2 separate regions of the Homo sapiens genome follow, and region 2 is linked to region 1. Evidence: promoter capture Hi-C in 16 types of primary human blood cells and fetal thymus (Javierre and others, 2016). All regions are on one chromosome and are shown on one strand. Each heading gives the region's core, a stretch centred on a gene start or on the middle of the fragment in contact. The rest is flanking DNA. Distances are from core to core; before and after follow the strand shown.

Region 1 (3,329 bases), core at 13-2,512:
CCAGCCGCTCCATGGGGTACACGGTCTTCTGGCAGGCGGCGCAGGTCTCCTTCACCTGGGCCCGCAGGCTGAAGGACTGTGCGGGAAGCTCAGCCAGGTGCTGCCCCAGTGCTCATCCCGCTCCCTCACACCCCTCCTCCCGCACACCCGGCCCCAGGCCCCTACCTTGGAGCGCTGCACCGTGCTGCTGCCGCCGCCTTTGGCGTCCTGAGGGAGAGGGGCGGTCAGGGCAGGGGCAGCTCCGGGAGGCCCTGGATCAGGGCTGCAGCCATCAGCCCAAGGCCCAGGGGCGCGCCGCAGGGCACAAAGGGGGCCGGCAAACTCTGATGCCTCTCCCCTTCACCCCAGGCCAGGCTCCTGTCCGGGGGGCCCTCCCACCCAGCCGGGCACTTACATGAGAGGGGGTGGCCTGGGCGGCTCCTGCAGCCTGGAACATGGCTCGTTGGAGGTGGAAGCCTCGGGTGGAGAAGCGGCACCCGCTGGGTTCTGCAAGGGGAAGTCAGTCGGGAGGGCCCCGCCAGCCCGGCCCCAGCCTGCAGGGTGGGGGGTGTTGACAGGCAGGGGCTGGGGGGATTGCGGTTGGGACTTTCCCTAAGTCATTTCCTGTTGCTCTTGGTCTTGCCACTTCCGCCCCTCACCCACCTCCCCCACCCCTGCTCCCCAGGGGCCGGGGTCCCGAGTGGCACCGTCCCTCGGAAGAACAAAGTTAGCGGGAGCGGAGGGGCCGGGGGCTCCCGCGCAGCCGCCGTGTGCGTCCCGCGGGCTGGGACCGCTTGGGGTGAGGGGAGGTCGGGGCCGGCGGGGCCGCGATGAGAAGCCGCTGCCCCGACCTGACCCCGGCCCTCGCTGCCCTGCGCCGCGCCCGGGCGTCCAGGCCTAGGCTGCGCAGCCCCTGGACAGCGCCCGAGGTCCCCGCCCGCCCCGCCCCTCGGCCCCCGACCTGGCCCCGCGAGGACCGGACCCCAGACCCCGACGCCGCGAGCCCCGCCAGCGGGTCTCGGCTCCGCCCAGCCGGGGGCCGGCCCTGAAACGAGGACTCGAGCCTGTGCGCCCCGGGCGAGAGCGGCTCGCAGACTCGCCGGGACCCCACGGGCGGCCCTCACCCCACACCCCTCGGCGCCTCTCCCGGTTCCGGAGCCGGACGCGGCCCCTCCCCCCGCGGCTCTCACCAGGCCCGGCCTGGGCCGCGGGGCGGGATCGGTCTCCGGGGGCGCACGGGTACGAGGAGGGCGCGGGCGCGAGCTGCTGCCGCTACCAGTGGTCCCCGAGCCACCGCCGCCGCCACCGCCTTATCGCTGCACCGCCCCCGCCGGCCCCCGCCCCGCGCCCGCCCATTGGCTCCGCCGCGCCCGGAGCCGCCTTCGGGGCCCCGGCGCCGCCGCCGACCCCCCTCCGCGCTTTGTCTTCCCCTCGCCGCCGTCCCCGCCTTTGTCTGTCCCCCGCCCCGGCTCCGCGCTCCCGGCTCCGCAGCGCCCCGCGGGCCTCGCGCTCGCAGGCCTCGGGTACCGGCCGCGCCGTCTGCCCATCCCGACGGCGGCCCGGCGTGGGGAAGCAACGGTGGCAGGGACAGGATGGAAGGGCCGCGCTCCGCATCCTACTGGGAGGGGACGAGTTCAGGCTGCGGCGGCTGCGGTCGCGGGACACTGGGCGCTCCCGGCCTGGCTCCGGGATAACCGGGCGGGGCCTGGGCCATTCACTGCCTCGGTTTCCCCCGGTTGGCCTCGCGCGTAGGCGCCGGCGCCCCCATCCCCGCCCAGAGCTGTGGGGCCGCAGAGACCCAGCCGGGGCGACCCCGGAGCCTGGCCCGGGGTCCCTCGGGCGGCCGAGTCCTCCCGCCGCCAGGGGCCGCCCCCGCCCCTTTGCGGCCCACGAGGCTGGCGGCGGCGTCCGGGCACGCGGTCTCCAGGCCCGGCCGCGAGGCTGCGGGGAGGAGCCTGCACGAGGGCCCGGCAGCCCCGGCAGCCCCCCCAGCCCTCGGCGCCTCTGCAACCCTGCGACGGGCTGGGGAGGCCGGTATGCGTGGTTCCCGGAGCACCCGTCCCCCGAGGCTCCACGTACTCAAGCGTTTCTGGGGCGGAATTCTGTGGGCAGCAACGGGGGCCCCCTCTCCAACAAGCGCACCTCATTTCTCACGTGGGAGCCGCGGCCCAGAGAGCTGAGGTGACAGAGCTTGGGCCGCAGAGCTGCTCCCTCCCTGCAGCCGCACAGCAGGCCGGAGGCACAGCCGGCGAGAGACGGCCACTCGCTTTGGAGCGGCGGCGAGGCCGGCGCCTTCCCGGGCACCAGGGACTGCGTGGCTTGGCCGGAAATCAGGCTAGAAGCAGCTCCGGGAAGCACAGCCCTTAGCCCAGCGCCTTCCCACACTGTGGCAGGAATAGCACTGGCGGCCCACGCGCTTGTCAGGGAACAGAACAGCTCTCGCCCGACGCCTGGCAGGGGAGCAGGGAGGCTGCAGCTTCCCCAGCGACCAGCTGTTTCCCAGGCTGGCGGACTCCACGGACCGGCTCCGCGTCTCCTCTCCAGCCTTCTGTTCTCTCTAGAGGAAGATCTGCGTTTTGTCTGCACTGTGGGCCGACTCTCTAGTGGGGAGCGTCAGACCCTCTAAAGTGGCTGCCTCTCGGGAAAGCTTCCACACCTGTCATCAGATTCTCCAAAGGGGCTGTTTGATGCAAGAAACGGGAAGCCCCGGGGGTACTAGGAGCAGGGCTTGCTGCCATTGGGCATGGTGAGGCCCCGGCACCCTGCCCAGGACGGGCCTGTGGGCTGAGCTGCAGATGGGCATTGAGGATGCCCCAACAGCAAGGTGCAGAAGGCATCCAGAAGCAAAGGAAACTGATGACCAGCGTCAAAAACAAACAAAAAAAGGGAACTTGGCTCGGCGGTGGCTCACGCCTGTAGTCCCAGCACTTTGGGAGGCAGAGACAGGTGGATCACGAGGTCAGAAGTCCAAGACCAGCCTGGCCAACATGGTGAAATCCCGTCTCTACTAAAAATACAAAAATTATCCAGGCGTGGTGGTGTGTGCCTGTAATCCTAGCTACTCGGGAGGCTGAGGCAGAAGAATCGCTTGAACCCGGGAGGTGGAGCCTACAGTGAGTCAACATGAAGCCAGTGCACGCCAGCCTGGGCGACAGACTCTGTGTTTGTGTGTGTGTGGGGGGGGGAGGGCGGGGCGAGGCGAAGGGAACTTGAGGTTTAAAGCAGGGGGAGGAGGGCCGGAAATGCTCCCCGCCGCCCCCGACACTCACTCGCCCCAGGCCCCATCCTAGCCCAGGGTCAGTGTCATTCCCTTCACCTTAGCCTCTCACTGCCCAAAGAGGCTTACTTTT
Region 2 (3,209 bases), core at 310-2,809, 280 kb before region 1:
TGGCCAGATCTCTAAATTGGTCATAGATTTACTTCCTCTTGGATAATCCCTCCTGCAACATCAGATGGAATCACAAACTCTAAACTTCACTTTTCTACTGCCACCCTACTCCATGCCTTTCCAAAAATGGGGAACACTGATTGGTATTATTTTATGCCATGAGATTAGGGAAGCAACTGCTAGACTGCTTTAGCTCCCACATCCTTCATGAGGAAGAGAGTGACTTCTAGAGGGCTGGCCAGGTGGAGCGTCAGACCAAAAAAACAGTTCTCCAGACAAGCCAGAAATTAAGGAGGAAGTAATAACTTTGGAGTGCTTGGGGTTAGGAAGTCATATGTGTTATAGAGAGCAAAGGAACTTTGAAATGAGCATGGTCAGCCTCTTTGGAATCCAGTTGGGAAGTCAGGGTCCAGGGCCTTCCATTTGCCAAGGCTTTGCCTCCCTGGCTTGTATCTTGGGTATCCCCTCAACCTTGCCTTTCCTGCCAGGTGAGTTTCCTATAGAAAAGACTAGACCCTTCTGCCCTCACCATCAGGGCCAGAACTCCTCTCTAGGCTGGCGTTTGGGAGGGTTAGCCCTTAGTAACAGCTGCTGAGAAGAAGAAGGGAGTGGGGACCACACTTCCTCAGCTGTTCAGCAGACCAACTGTGTGTTTCGCCATCTTGTGCTCCCATTAGAAAGGTAAAGTAAAGGAAGCTGCCCAGCGCTACCAGTACGCCCTGAAGAAGTTCCCTAGAGAAGGGTTTGGTGAGGACTTGAAAACTTTCCGGGAACTAAAGGTGTCTCTCCTCCTCAACCTCTCTCGGTGTCGCAGGAAAATGAACGTAAGTCCCTGTCACCCCAACTCCTTTCTGCAATCCTGGTAGCTGATAGCCTGTGTCACTCACTAGCTTTTACCAGGCCCCTGAAATCCTCCTCTGCCCCATTTGGAACTTGGTTGTCCTTCACAGAGCACTGACATTTGCAATTTGAAAGAAATCAAGTCTAAGTACAATCTGTATCTCAAACTGTACAGAAATTAATGCTGCGAGTACTTTGCAGCTTTCTGAATGTTCATAATTTAACTGAAAGTGATGAGAATACCATCTTTCCCACCCCCATACCACCAAGTCAGTGTTCTGGTCTTTGGGAAAATGTGAGAGCAGTGGTCACTAGAATTCCAGTTGCAATTAGATGTGAATTGTAGTCATTACTCTCAGGTATATTCCCTTATCATTTGAAGAAGGGCTAAGGAGAGGGCTTGGACCATGGTCTTGAAGGTTTAATTTCTGAGGCTATCGAACTTTTCGCCTCTTTCCTCATCTTTGTATCCCAGCATGCTATGTCCCTTCTTGTCCTAGGGGGAATCTCAGAACTCCCCCTGGACCTTTATCGTCTCCCTGGTAAGCCACGGTCCTTCCTGCCTACCTTGCAGACCCATCTCACATGTCCCCAGACACTGCTCCCTCAGCCACTGCCCTTTAACGTGAAGACACTCCAAGCCAAGAACCCTCTCTCAGGTTTTGGAAATAGCTAAGATTGTGTCAGGAGTCTCTGACATCTACCTGCCTGAGGTCTCACAGTTCCTCAGGAGATAAAAATAATCCAAGCCAAACAGATGTATTGATCAATTAAAAACTCAGCTGGACAGAAGCAAGATTTGAACCTCATGGCCAGGGATCTTCCAGAAAGATTTGTGTGTGTAACCTTTAGATCATCCATTCCAGACCCTAAACCCTGACACTGGAAGGAACCTGAGTTAAACCTGACTGTCTCAGAGAACATAGCCATGACCTTCAGAGGCAGAGTTAAACCTGACTGTCTCAGAGAACACAGCCATGACCTTCAGAGGCAGAGTTAAACCTATCTCAGAGAACACAGCCATGACCTTCAGAGGCAGAGTTAAACCTGACTGTCTCAGAGAACACGGCCATGGCCCTCAGAGGCAGAGTTGCTCCAGGGTGCTGAGGGAAGTGGGGATGTGGAAGAGGCCCCCCAACCCCGGGAAGGGAGAAGGTGGCGGTCTCGGGAGACAGATTTTCATGCTCTTGGGGTCTCCTGTGAAATGAAAGGAACAGCACCAAGGCCTCCCCTGCACCAGCCGATGAGGATGAGGCAAAGCTCAGAAGTTGCTGCCAACCCACTGATCTCTTTTCCCTACCAAATAATAGACTTTTTAAAAATGCCCTCATATTTTTAGGAATAATGATGGTCCCAAAAGAACAAATAAAAGGGTAAGGCTGGAAGCAGAGCAGGGAGAGGGTGACCCATAAAAGCTGAAATTCTTTCTAGCTCCACATTTGTTCAGAAGCGGTTGTTAATCACCTCCTGGGCCAATACTGTGCCAAACACCAGACGTCTGTCTTCTTAGGTAGAGGATTTCCCATCAACTTTTAAAAAATTTTTTTACCTATGCCCCAGGGCCTTTGTTCTGCCCAAGGCCTTGTTTTCTGCCTTAGGACTCATGACCATAACCAGAGGCTACCATGCTATACTGTGGCTTTGACACTAAAAGAAGGGGAAAGCCTTCTCTTTTAGCTTAGTATTTAAGGGAATACTGAAAACCATAGGCTGCCTAGTCGGCGTTGTTCCCCACCCCACCCCCCAGTCTCTGTTTCCAGGGGTTCTCAGGAATGACATGCCTGTGAGCGTGTTCCTCTAGGGAGAGCACAGACCTCAGTCACAGCTGGGGTCTTCTCTTGTTTTGTTTTATTTTTAATTTTAAGTGTTTCCTAAGTAAGGAACCAGTTAAAAAAAGGAACAGATCAGAGAAGCCTCTGTGAAATAGAAAGAAAACGATAATTAATGAGCACCTACTATGTGCCGGGAACTGTGCAGGGCTTTTAAATACTGTATCACACTTGATCCTACCCCCGGGGTAGGTATGGATGAGAAAATACACTATACACTTGGGGGTTATGAAGCTGGTCAGAGAATTGAACCCAGGTCTGTCTGACACCCCCTCTCCCTCTAGTCTCTGTAGTCAGTGCAGTTTCCTTTACAGACGTCATCCTCCCGGACTTTACAGGACACCTTCTCACCTGTCCCTTAGAAAGCCACAGTGTAGTGCATGTAGCAGGAAGGTGTGGGGCTCAGACCAGGGTCCACGTGAAATGTGGACATGTGTGCGTTTGCCTCCTACATGCATGGATAACTTCAGGAGCTTCACTGGAAAGGGTTGGTGTTTGGCTTCCGGGCTGAGAACTTTATTAGAAAGGCAAAAAGAGGGA

What was found. Contacts are between HindIII fragments. The CHiCAGO score rates a contact against its expected background, and 5 or more counts as called.
Region 2: a contact is called between a fragment that was not itself captured here and the fragment with the promoter of LIMD2 in region 1, in 7 of 17 cell types (megakaryocytes, fetal thymus, activated CD4 T cells and 4 more). The highest score is 5.7, in megakaryocytes.

The regions. Positions count from the first base shown.
Region 1 is chr17:63,698,863-63,702,191 of GRCh38, forward strand. It overlaps LIMD2 (LIM domain containing 2), which reads right to left and starts at 1,263. Exons shown (of 5, transcript NM_030576.4): 1 at 1,170-1,263; 2 at 395-486; 3 at 166-207; 4 at 1-76. The coding sequence starts at 436. LOC729683 (a long non-coding RNA gene) reads left to right here and starts at 1,476. Exons shown (of 1, transcript NR_046273.1): 1 at 1,476-3,329. RefSeq lists silencers at 142-371, 462-921, 1,012-1,971, 3,162-3,241 and enhancers at 1,676-2,261, 2,262-2,846, 2,642-2,741. The HindIII fragment of the contact is 14,945 bases long and covers 1-2,624 here.
Region 2 is chr17:63,414,851-63,418,059 of GRCh38, forward strand. It overlaps TANC2 (tetratricopeptide repeat, ankyrin repeat and coiled-coil containing 2), which reads left to right. Exons shown (of 28, transcript NM_001394998.1): 26 at 678-824. Among named protein-coding and RNA genes, the nearest start is that of CYB561, 30 kb to the right of the region's middle. The HindIII fragment of the contact is 3,917 bases long and covers 1-3,209 here.